Regions from separate parts of the Homo sapiens genome. Here region 2 is linked to region 1. The links are contacts of gene promoters, found by promoter capture Hi-C in human tissues and cell types (Jung and others, 2019). All regions are on one chromosome and are shown on one strand. Each heading gives the region's core, a stretch centred on a gene start or on the middle of the fragment in contact. The rest is flanking DNA. Distances are from core to core; before and after follow the strand shown.

Region 1 (5,821 bases), core at 1,195-3,694:
CCATTTCAGGCTGCAGTGCCTTCTGTCCACCAGCCAATCTACATGAGAAGCACCCAAATTAGAGCATTCCCATTCACATCACCAAAATTCCATCACTAATTCGAGTGAAATACACTGAAATTAGTCTAAAAGTTTTCTTTACATTGGTTAAAGTATGGGGGTCATGGGAAGATGGGAATAAAGACAAGCCCAAAGAGATGCCTGGGGCTAAACCAGGCTCTGACAATCTGACTTCATTAGCAGTGTGATTTTTATAGAGCAATTGCCTCAACACAGGGATAACAAAAAGTTTAAATTGGTCCTGAAAGTGCCACTTTTGACCATTCTCAATTCCCCATAATATTTTTGCTTCTATGGGTAATTATATCTTTCTTCCTGACAAGAGGATGCTGCTCAACTTCCATTTCCTCAGGGCTGGGGTTAACCATGACAATGGAAAATACAAGATGGTTATGCCAAGTACTGGATGAATGAACAGCTGCAAAGCCCCTAATACCTACAGCGCCCTAAGGACTAGATAACATGACTCTGTTGTGAACAGTGAAGTACCACCCTGTACATGTGAATACCAATGGGACTGACCTCTCAAAGTCTGGGCCCAGATTTGTGGCTTCAGAGCCATGCATATTTCCTCAGTGAGAGCTAAGAGCTGAGCTTTGTGGTCAGATGGTCCTGGGTTCTCGTTATCAAGTTTCTTGAGCAAGTCTACTATTCTGTGCCTCAGTTTTCCCACATGTAAAATGGGGAATAATAAGACACTGACTAGAAAAGGGAATGCAGGTAAAACACTGAACAGTGTGCCTGAGACACGGCAAGGACTCAAAAAATGACAGTGATCATTTTTATCATGTCAAGTGCCTAAAACAGCACCTGGTACAAAAAAAAACCCTCAATGAATGGTGGTCATTTTATTGGTCCTTTTCATGACCAAGAACAAGCTCACACACCAAGACTGCACATGGGCTGAAGGGCCAGTACAAATCTGAAGGGAGGCTAAAGAAGCTTCCCCCGTGACCACCAAGCAGGACTGACTAAATGGCACTACAGAGTGGTGAATTCAGAACTTGAACTCTGCCAACCGGTCAAACGCTGGGGTCCCACACTAGTATCAGTTATACTCTCTCTGCTATATTCCTGTAAAGTTTTCAGAAAGAAAAATTCTGTTGATGTCACAGAACTAGAAGCAACGGACTGGGGTAGTCAAACAGACACCATCTTAAGGACAAGATTGGCATCAAATCCATGAATCCAATAAGCATTTTAAAATGCCAGGAGCTGTGTGATCAGATGAAGAGGCCTTCCCTGACTATGAACTGGGGAGGAAGTATGTAAGCCCCATACAGACAACCTGGAGATGGCCTGGACACTAAAAGGTTTTCATTTGCAACTGGGTCTTAGGTCCCTCTTCCTCCTAAAATCAAGGGGGAGGTGGAAGCTTTTTAAATGAGGTTTTTTTTTTTTTTCCTGGCATAATGCAAAAGGCATGGACAGTGGGTCAGACAGACTTAAGTTCCAATTCAGATGTGCCACTTAGTGGTTGACTGTTTTTTGTCTTCTTTTTGAGATGGAGTTTCGCTCTCGTTGCCCAGGCTGGAGTGCAATAGTGAGATCTCTGCTCACCGCAACCTCTGCCTCCGGGGTTCAAGCAATTCTCCCACCTCAGCCTCCCGAGTAGCTGGGATTACAGGCATGTGCTCCCATGCCCGGCTACTTTTTATTTTTATTTTTTTGTATTTTTAGTCATGGAGACATGGAGACAAGGTTTCTCCATGTTGGTCAGGCTGGTCTCGAACTCCTGACCTCAGGTGATTCGCCCACCTCGGCCTCCCAAAGTGCTGGGATTACAGGCATGAGCCACCGCGCCCGGCAGTGGTTGACTGTTTTTAAAGCGAGTCATTTATCCTGTCCCTGAATGATACGATAACATATGTTATTAAAGGAGAAAACGCAGGTCAAACAGACTGTACATATGGTTCGTTCCCGCTGCTATCAGGGAAGCAGGTCTGGCCACAGATGGGGCATAGAACGAGGCCAGTGGTCAGCATCTCGACTCAGGCTTTCAGGGGTCAGAGCTCCCGGCTATTGGACACAGGGGGCAACGCACAGGCCTCCCCCCGACAGCCAGCTGCGCGGTGGCGCCCCCTCCTACCGAGCAGCTTGCTGGTCTGGATGTCGATGGGCACGTGCTGATGGTCCTGGCGGGAAACACGGTGAGGAGGGGGGCGTGAGCGCGGAGAGAGGACGTACCACTCGCGCGCTCATTTCAACGTCCCAACCACCACCCTGCAGGGCCAGAACGGGGCCAGAGCGATGGGCTGGGTTGAGCCGCTTCCGGAGGGAGACCGGAGACACAGGTTAGGGGTCCGCGGCCAGTCCCCAGCACACCCAGCTCCTGTCCCCACACCTCCATCTTTCCTCCACTTCCGCTTCAGGCTGGAGACTGTGGCCCGCCCCGCCCTACCACCAATCCAGTGGCGTTGTGGCCGAGCCTCCGTTTAGACACAAACGGGCATCCTTCGGCCACGTCGCCGCCTTCCGTACAGCCAATCAGGGTTTACGCTCCACTCAGGCCTCAAGCCCCGCCCACCCCAGGCTCCGAATGGCTGAGCTCGGGAGGGGCGGGAGAATGGAGACAGCCAATTGGAGACGCGAGGCGGGCTCAGGGCAGGGGACGGGAGGGGGTGCGCTGCAGCGGCCGTGGGATTGCGACAGGCGGCGCTCGAGAGCCCAGCCTGGCAGCCGCTTCCCCTGGCGGGCACTGGGTCTTCTCCACGCAGATTGAGACGTCTGCTGGCGGGGTCCTAGCGCCGATCTGGGAGGCCGTTGCAAATACCTTCTTCCCTCCTTGCGTCGCTTTACCATCCAGAGCAGTGTGCAGGTCTCTTGTGGCACTTGTCATGCTTTGCCTCCTCATTCAGTTTCTCTAATAGACATGGTTGAGCACCTGCAACGTGTTGGGCGATTAGGGCAGGGAAGGGGAAGGAAGAGAGTCGGTGAGACGTCCCAAAGAGAACACCTACATTGAGTCTAAACGAAGAGCTGAAGATAGCTGGGTGATGTGGGAAGAGGAGTTTTAGGTGGAGGAGACTACACAGACAAAGCTTAGGTGGCCACAAACTGCAAGAGGGGTGCAAGCAACAACAGGCAGGCAGGACGGGCAACGTAATTTGTGAGGTCCAGTGCAAAATGGAAATGCACAGCTGCTTGTTACAAAATGATGAAGAATTTCAAGATGAAGTCGGCTCCGCGGGCAGGCCAACCTCTATACCGTAGATGGTTTGAGGCAGCGAGTGGCTAGAGGAGAGGCTGTAAGGGTGGAAAGGCCATATCAAAGGGAGACTTATTAAGGAACTTGGACTTCATCCCTTCAGACAGAGGAATCACAGAAGGGGTTTGAGGCAGGGAGGAACCTGTACAGATAGGCTGCTGGGATGATGGATGCATGGGAGATAAGACTGGGGACAAGGAGGCTGGAAGGAGGTTGTTATCGAGGGATTATAGCCTGAGCTGGGACACAAGATATGAGGAGGAAGGGGAAGGGCTGGATCTGAGGAATATTTAGGAGGAAAATGTATAGGACTTGGCAATTGATTGGCTGTTTGGGTGGAGGAGAGAGACACTAAGGATGACACCTAGGTGATTAGGTGGGAACCACCACCTGAGACAGGGATGCAGGATGCTGAGCAGGTGTTGGGGAGGAGGGGGTCTAGCTTTGAACCTAGTCTGGCAATGCTGGGAGACCCCCAGATGGAAAGTGTGCAGAAGGCACTTGGGTCTATAATTTTGGAGTTCGAGGGAGTTGTCGGGGCTGGAGATACAGCTTGGAGAGTCACAAGCTGGCTAATCTGTGGTCCGAGTGGTGGCTGAAGCTAAGGGAGAGTCTGAGATTGGCCAAGAAGTGGGTAGAGTAAGGAGGGAGGGTAGGCTGAGGCCAGATCCCCCAGGATCTCACAGCGCTGGGTATGCCTTTTCTTTTTTTTTTTTTTTTTTTTTTTTTTTTGAGACGGAGTCACGCTCTGTCGCCCGGGCTGGAGTGCAGTGACACGATCTCGGCTCACTGCAAGCTCTGCCTCCTGGGTTCACGCCATTCTCCTGCCTCAGCCTCCCCAGTAGCTGGGACTACAGGCGCCCGCCACCACGCCCGGCTAATTTTTTTGTATTTTTAGTAGAGACGAGGTCTCACCGTGTTAGCCAGGATGGTCTCGATTTCCTGACCTCGTGATTCTCCCGCTTCAGCCTCCTAAAGTGCTGGGATTACAGGCGTGAGCCACCGCGCCCGGCCCTGGGTATGCCATTTCTAAATATTCCTTCCCCAGCTCCTGTTCACCACAGCACAACACTTGAGGCTTAGTAAATTTTTGATTGAAATGCATAGTGTGATACAGCAGCAGGAAGACCTAGATTCTGCCCAGTGAGGTCTTGGACCATTTCTATAACCTATCTGATAGCCACAGTTTCCCCACATGGAGATAACAGCTATCCTATCTCAGGGTATTTCTGTTTAGAGGCTTAAATAAACACACTAGTAACTCATGACAGTTTACAACATACTGTGGCTGTATTTCTCATGCTTTGTAAACTCTCCCTATATGAAATATCATATATGGGCCAGGCGCGGTGGCTCACGCCTGTAATCCCAGCACTTTTGGGAGGCTGAGACAGGCGGATCACCTAAGGTCAGGAATTCGAGACCAGCCTGATCAACATGGTGAAATCCCATCTCTGAAAAAAACAAAAAACACGCTGGGCACGGTGGCTCACGCCTGTAATCTCGGCACTTTGGGATGCTGAGGCGGGTGGATCACGAGGTCAGGAGTTTGAGACCAGCCTGATCAACATGGTGAAACCCTGTCTCTACTAAAAATACAAAAATTAGCTGGGCGTGGTGGCGTACGCCTGTAATCCCAGCTACTCAGGAAGCTGAGGCAGGAGAACTGCTTGAACCCGGGAGGCGGAGGTTGCAGTGAGCCGATATTGCGCCACCGCACTCCAGCCTGGGCGACAGAGTGAGACTCCATCTCAAAAACAAAACAAAACAAAAAACAAACAAACAAACAAAAACAAAAACCATCCCGGCGTGGTGGTGCATGCCTGCAGTCCCAGCTACTCAGCTACTCGGGAGGCTGCGGCGGAAGAATCACCTGAACTTGGGAGGCGGAGGTTGCAATGAGCCCAGATTGCGCCACTGCACTCCAGCCTGGGCAACAGAGTGAGACTCCATCTCAAAATATATATATATGTCATATATGATCATTATTATTATAGAACGGATTGAAAAACTGCTCTGAAAATGGCTCATAGAGCTGAATTAAGGGCCTTTTCAGGGATCTTTCATGGGAATTTGGCTCCCATCTGAGTCAGCCTGACTCAGACTGTAGGAATTGCTCAGGCTCCTCCATGATTAAACACACACTTAACTGGGCCCCAACTATGTGCTCGGGGCTGTCTGGGACATCTCAAGAGCAAGGCACTGCCCTGCCCTCAAGGTGTATCTATCTCTCTTCCTTGAACCAACAGGCTGGGCAGAACAGGACAGGGTGGGTCTGGAAGACCCAGCCCAGGTGAGTTGATGGAAGCAGGGACCACCAGCACTTCAGCCCCACCCACAGCTCCCCAAGGTGACTCACGTGGAGCAGAAGGATGTTTGAGAACAGTTCTGCCCAGCTACTGACTCCAGGGAGGCTGTCCCAAAGCCAGAGGCTCTGGGAGAGAACCTGCCTCTGCTGACTGCAGAGGCTCTGGGGGAGAGCCTGCCAAAGGCACATGCTTCTGTGTTCCCAAAGAGTGTAGGAGCATGGGCCTTTGGCGGGTTTCTGCACTT
Region 2 (5,821 bases), core at 1,580-4,079, 270 kb before region 1:
GAGTCTGCAGATAGGTTGATAGTCCTTTGTGAGGTAATACATTTTTAAAGTGCCAAAAATGTAGGAATATTTTTAGAATACAATAGCTTATGCATCACTGAAGCCTGTTTTATATATATATTAATAGCATTCATTGTACTGCAAAACAAGTACTTATTCCTCGGTTTTATTTGCGCTTCCTCCAGGCCCATTAGTACAGATTAAATTTTTTATATTGATGCTCAAACAATCAGCACAATATATGTAAATCAGGGACTTTAAGTTCTTTGGCACTATTCGTATGGATATATGTTACCATGTTCAACATGGCCTTTTTTTCCCCTTTGCAAAAACAGGATTTTGTTCCTTTTTAGTGTGAAGATCCTATTTCCAAAAGATGAACTGTTTGACAAATTACACATGCAAAAAGCTCAAAACCACAAAGAGAACAACTTTCTTATTGCCATTGGGTTTGTCTGATTTATAGAACAAAGGGAAGAAGTTTTGTTTTGGGGGTAAAATACCCAATCATGGGCTTATTATATCTCTTTAAAGTCCTATTTTTATTTTTACTAGGGGAAGTCAGGGAATTTGAAAGGGCAGGGAGGGAGATGGCTTGCTCAAGCATTTTTCACCAGAGAATTCCACAGTAATATTTGTTTTAAATGGGAGAGTCCTGTAGTTAAGTTGAGAAATTAGTTATAATGTTTGTATCTGATTACCTAAAGACTGGAAGGTAATAGTGTGTGACGAGTTACATTTTACATCACAGTCCAGGTATAGTCAATTTGCAAAATGGAAATATTGTGGTGGCAATGTTCCTTCGAAGAGTTAGAGCTATCACAGAAATAAAACTTCATATAAGCATTTATTGTTATAATGCCAAGAGTTGATTCTTGATTTTTACAGAACTTTCTCCAAAAAATATTCTACCATTCCTTTTACAGTACAGGCTCAAGTCTTGGCATATTCAATAGACTAGCCAATCCAATTCTAACCGTTTTTATTCAGTGTGGTTCCTGAGAATAATTTGATAGACCTACTAGGGGAGATCCTATCACACTTACAGTATTCTAAGACCTTCTTTTGCACTACAGGTTATCAAATGGCCTTCCTATTAACAAAGGTTCAAACCACACCATCAAATGGTTCAAACCACATAACCCCTTGTCTTAGGAGTTAAGCTAGCTTCCTAACCCTTCCTTGCAGTGGTTAACTCCACTGAGGAGCTTTCTATCAGCAATAATAGCTTCAAGGTGGGAAATAAAAAATGGAGAGTGTTTAAATTGTTAATGGGTTTCATGTTCTTGTCACTGTTGAGGGTTTGTTCCCTTTTATAAACTCATAGTTTTTGGTTGACATTGCTTTTATGCGAGCCATCAGCCAGTTGGTGATGGTGTTGCTGTGTTAGACCATTACTGCCGGATTGTATTTGCAGTAAAGAAGGAGAATGGAGGCTGTAAATCTGTAACTGGAGATTTAGGGCTCTGTTACTCTGCAGTTTAGGCCCATGTGCTGGGGAGTCCATTCTCCTCCGGCAGAATTATACCCTGAAAACATGCCTTTCTAGGCACACTGATCAACGACGTTCATTCCCTGGGCTACCAAGGCACTTAATACAGCTAATTCAGTTAAAGAAGCCCGAGGGGTGAGGTGGATGAGCCTCTTTCCCTGCTGGAAGCCAGATGCCAGGCAGGTTAGTGATATTGCTTTATCCCTTCCCCCAGGTAAAGCTTCCAGGAGAAGCAGTTACTGCAAACGCAGAGAAAAATAATAAGAAAATGCTTCTAGTGTTGTTGGACTCAGTTCTCCTTCAAGCAGGAAATGCTGTCTTAACTCAACCTCATTAACCCCTTTGATACTAAGCCCATTATCAGGAATATTCAGGAAGCACATTCTTTCAGAATTCAGGATGTGTCAGGAGCCTTGATATCTTGACATCATTGTACAAAACTACCAGCAAAGAATGGAAAGTAAGAGAATAAGTGCTTTTGGGACAGGTAACTAAAAATGGAAAAAACTCCCAGTTTGGAAGATTATATCTGTTACTGCTGGGTTCAGAAATATTTTGAAAAGACACCAGAATTAAGTATATTTAGAATCACTTTATCAATCATGTATCATTTCTACTATTAGATGTTTTATAGTGAAAAGAATGTTGGAATGTTTCTTTGGCTGGTGAAAGTTTTAAGCATGGTTTTAGATCTGTTTTGTTTTGCTTTGTTAGGCCTTCCCCGAGAGAGGAAGAGTATTAAATATAGACTTATCTGCATGATCCATGTGAGGCATCTGGGTCTGCTTTTTGTGTCAGCTGAGGCACAAATGTGCATGATTTAACCATACAACTATTGAACTAGCATTGGCCTATTAAGACTTCAGATGATCTGTTCATGAGCTGTCAGCCCAAATTGAGCTTGAAGCCTGCTGTAAAAGATCTAATTTTCATAATTATCCAGAACCTTCACACCCTGCTTCCCTTCAGTACCACCCACCTCCACACATGCACACAGAGGAGTAAACACATACATATGGACACAGAGACACAGGGCAGCACTGTCCCTGGAGATTCATCAGGCCTCTTGCCCGAAAATGCAGAGTTCATCCAGGGGTCAGAACTGGCTTTGACTTCCTGTTTGAGGAGCCCCATGTGTGGTGTTCCAGCATTGCTAGAGGCTAGTGATGACTAAGTAACCTTTTCACACTATAGCCTCCCACCAAGAAACAAGGTCCCTTATGATCTTGGACCCAGAGTGATTAGGGCACAACAAATATCTTTTTAATATATAAGGTGGAACTAATGCCAGTAGAAATAGCACTTTGCTGTCTCATGGCCTCACATTTATAAAAAGAGGATAGAGCTGTTGTCTTTGAAGATGAAGAATTTTAAAGGCAACCTGATTTAGTCTCAGAGTACACTAGGGACTTTCATCGTTTAGTAGTTGCTTAAGGCTAACTTTGAGCTTTACCTGACCCAAGTCTTCAAAGGAAGCCATCATACTATGTGTGGAGTTCAGCTGGTAATATCTTTCTAGGTAATCTGGATTGTGAACGAGTGGGAACAGGCAGCACTTTCAGGTTTAACTCTTTGCAGCACTGGGATAACTGGCACATGCTTCAAGGATTAGGTCATTCTGATGTCCCTCCAGTAATTCCACTGGAACAACACTGCACAATAAACCATTTGGTTTCTGGACATATATTGCCCATGTGTGAAGGGTGGACAGGCAGCACTTTACTAGGTTCTTCTCATACAACCTCAGGTTTTTGAGGCTGCTGAGGTTTAAATCCCTTGTCTGAATATGGGACAACTGTATTTCTATACTGGTTGTCGATTGTCTTTGCCCTCAGAGGGCATTTGCTGCAACTCAGGGTTCTACAGTTAGAATAAAAGGAGTTATTTCCTGTCTTCACTGCTTTTTTGCTTTTTTTTATTTTTTTATCATGAGTGGAGACTGAGTACATTACTCAAACCTTGGCTTTTCCCTGAGGTCCGTTGTTTACAGAGAGACATTTGGGTCCCTGGGGCTCACTCCCATAAAATCTTATTATCATATATTTCAAGGCATAAACTTCAGTTGTCAGCTCAGGAGCAGTTCTGAAAGCACTGGCTGCTCTTGTTTTTCTTCTCCTTTACTCTGGTTTATTTTTCTTGCAGCTTTGGCTTTTTTTTTTCCCTTCTCCCTCATATCTAGCAATGCTCAATTCCAAGCTGGCTCGCTCCTTATTCCACTAATTAGACAAGAAGTCCAGAGAGGCCATTATTAGATTCTGAGAATCTTTATCAGAGCCCATTATGGCCTTAAATACTGCACAAACATTTTACTAACTGAATCCATGAACATTTCAGCTGATCCACCTTTGGTCTTTAACATCTACCTTCTTTTGTACCTATAGAGTTATGTTACTGATGATAGAGGTTCTCAACAGCTTATTTTTCTTTGTATTAATTTTCTTAGAGGCCATGATTCAAGTTCATTCTCTCTCTCTCTCTCTCTCTCTCTCTGTCTCTCTCTCTCTCTCTCTCATTCTAATTACTGTTGGTGGGGGTGGAGGGGGTCTGAGAAGCCTGCTTTTCCTTGGTGAGATACGTGTGAGTATGTGTAATGTCATATGTGTTAATGTCACCAGTGAGTAGGATTCATGGTTGCCTGTTTTTCTCTCATTTTCTTTACAGAGCCAGGGATTATTTGTATGGACCAATGGTCTCAGTTTTCTTTCAATGGAAGAATAATTCTGCATTATAATATAGTAACTGCAAAAGAAAGCTTTTTCTATTTCACTCTTTTCTTTCTTAATTCACTGTCTAGTGAGTTTCTGATTGACTCACAGACCAATTAAAGTAAAATTTAATGGAAGAATAGATTAACTCCCTGAGGTTTCCCTACCATCCATCACATTTTTATAGCAGGAGCTGTGAGGAAGCTCATAACTTCATGCTGTGAATGTGATAATAAAGAGGGCACAGAGAGGATTCCGATTTACTGCCAGGCTGATGTTCGCCAGGACAGAATTTACTGCCCAATCCCCTTCCCCTTTTTATTCAGGAGGAGGTCACTAGATCTGCCCTCAGCCTGGGTCTGAGATACTGAAGGGCAGATTGTCAAGTCGAAATTCTTTCCCTTTAATTGGGCTGGTGGTGGTGCGGAATGTGAATTTCACTGTCCAGAGATGGTTATTGTGTTAAATTCATTTCTGTCTTCAGGAAGCTGTGGTCACCCCAAGTGTTCATATTTTTAAAGGGTGCATTTGATTTGTTATGATTCATATAGAAAATCAGAAGTAAGGCCAGATATTTCTGTTTTCAAGTCACTAAGTCATTGTCTTTTATTTATAAGCTTTTTCAAATAACTAAAGATACCTGTCTCTACATCTTCATAGTCAACATTAATAATGTCTTTTTCTGGGCATCTTTCATTTGAAGATCTCAAAAAGTACTTTATAACCATTATTTTGGTCTTTCTGACAGGGCCAAAATAACCTACTAGCCTTCCAAACATTTCGCCAGTTCACTGTTTCTCTGAGTCATCTTAAAAATAAAGTGTGACAAGGATCACAATATAATAGTAGTCATGTGATGGAGCTCCATATCCATGCCTAAGATTAATTTTGTGCACTTATTACAATTTTTTACTTCATGAAGCAAAGTCTGTTTTTTAGGCCTTGACTATTTAAACCTATCTCAACTGGGCGCGGTGGCTCATACCTGTAATCCCAATACTTTGGGAGGCTGAGGTGGGAGGATTGCTTGAGCCCAGGAGTTCGAGACCATCCTGTGCAACATAGGGAGACTGCTGGGCATGGTGGCACACGCCTGTGGTCCCAGCTACTCAGGAGGTTGAGATGAAAGGATTGCTTGAGCCTGGGAGGTTGAGGCTACAGTGAGCTGTGATCATCCACTGTACTCCAGCTTGGGCCACAGAATGAGACCCTGTCTCAAAAAAAAACTCAAAATAAATAAATAAACAAACTTATGTCAAGTTTCATGACTACATGAAAGATAATCTTTTTGTCCCCAGAAGCTTGGTGAGATAGAAATCAATATTTTAAAATCATATTCATCTGATTGTCCTTGAAGTCAAAGCCTGTAATCCCAGCATTTTGGGAGGCTGAGACGGGTGGATCACCTGAGGCCAGGAGTTCGAGACCAGCCTGGCCAATATGGTGAAACCATGTCTCTACTAAAAATACAAAAATCAGCCGGATGTGGTGGCATGCGCCTGTAATCCCAGCTACTCGGGAGGCTGAGGCAGGAGAATTGCTTGTACTCAGGAGGCGGAGCTTGCAGTGAGCCAAGATCATGCCACTGCACTCCAGCCTGGGCAACAGAGCCAGGCTCCGTCTC

What was found. Contacts are between HindIII fragments. The study calls those that stand out against the background at their distance.
Region 2: a fragment that was not itself captured here is called in contact with the fragment with the promoter of CDK5RAP3 in region 1 in 2 of the 25 tissues and cell types used here (adrenal gland and lymphoblastoid cells).

Annotation. Positions count from the first base shown.
Region 1 is chr17:47,967,736-47,973,556 of GRCh38, reverse strand. It overlaps CDK5RAP3 (CDK5 regulatory subunit associated protein 3), which reads right to left and starts at 2,444. Exons shown (of 14, transcript NM_176096.3): 1 at 2,405-2,444; 2 at 2,150-2,195; 3 at 1-38. The coding sequence starts at 2,410. RefSeq lists an enhancer at 1,455-2,082 and a silencer at 2,504-2,793. The HindIII fragment of the contact is 4,856 bases long and covers 2,269-5,821 here.
Region 2 is chr17:48,238,012-48,243,832 of GRCh38, reverse strand. The region is part of intron 4 of SKAP1 (src kinase associated phosphoprotein 1); the gene reads left to right. Among named protein-coding and RNA genes, the nearest start is that of SKAP1-AS2, 53 kb to the left of the region's middle. The HindIII fragment of the contact is 4,655 bases long and covers 502-5,156 here.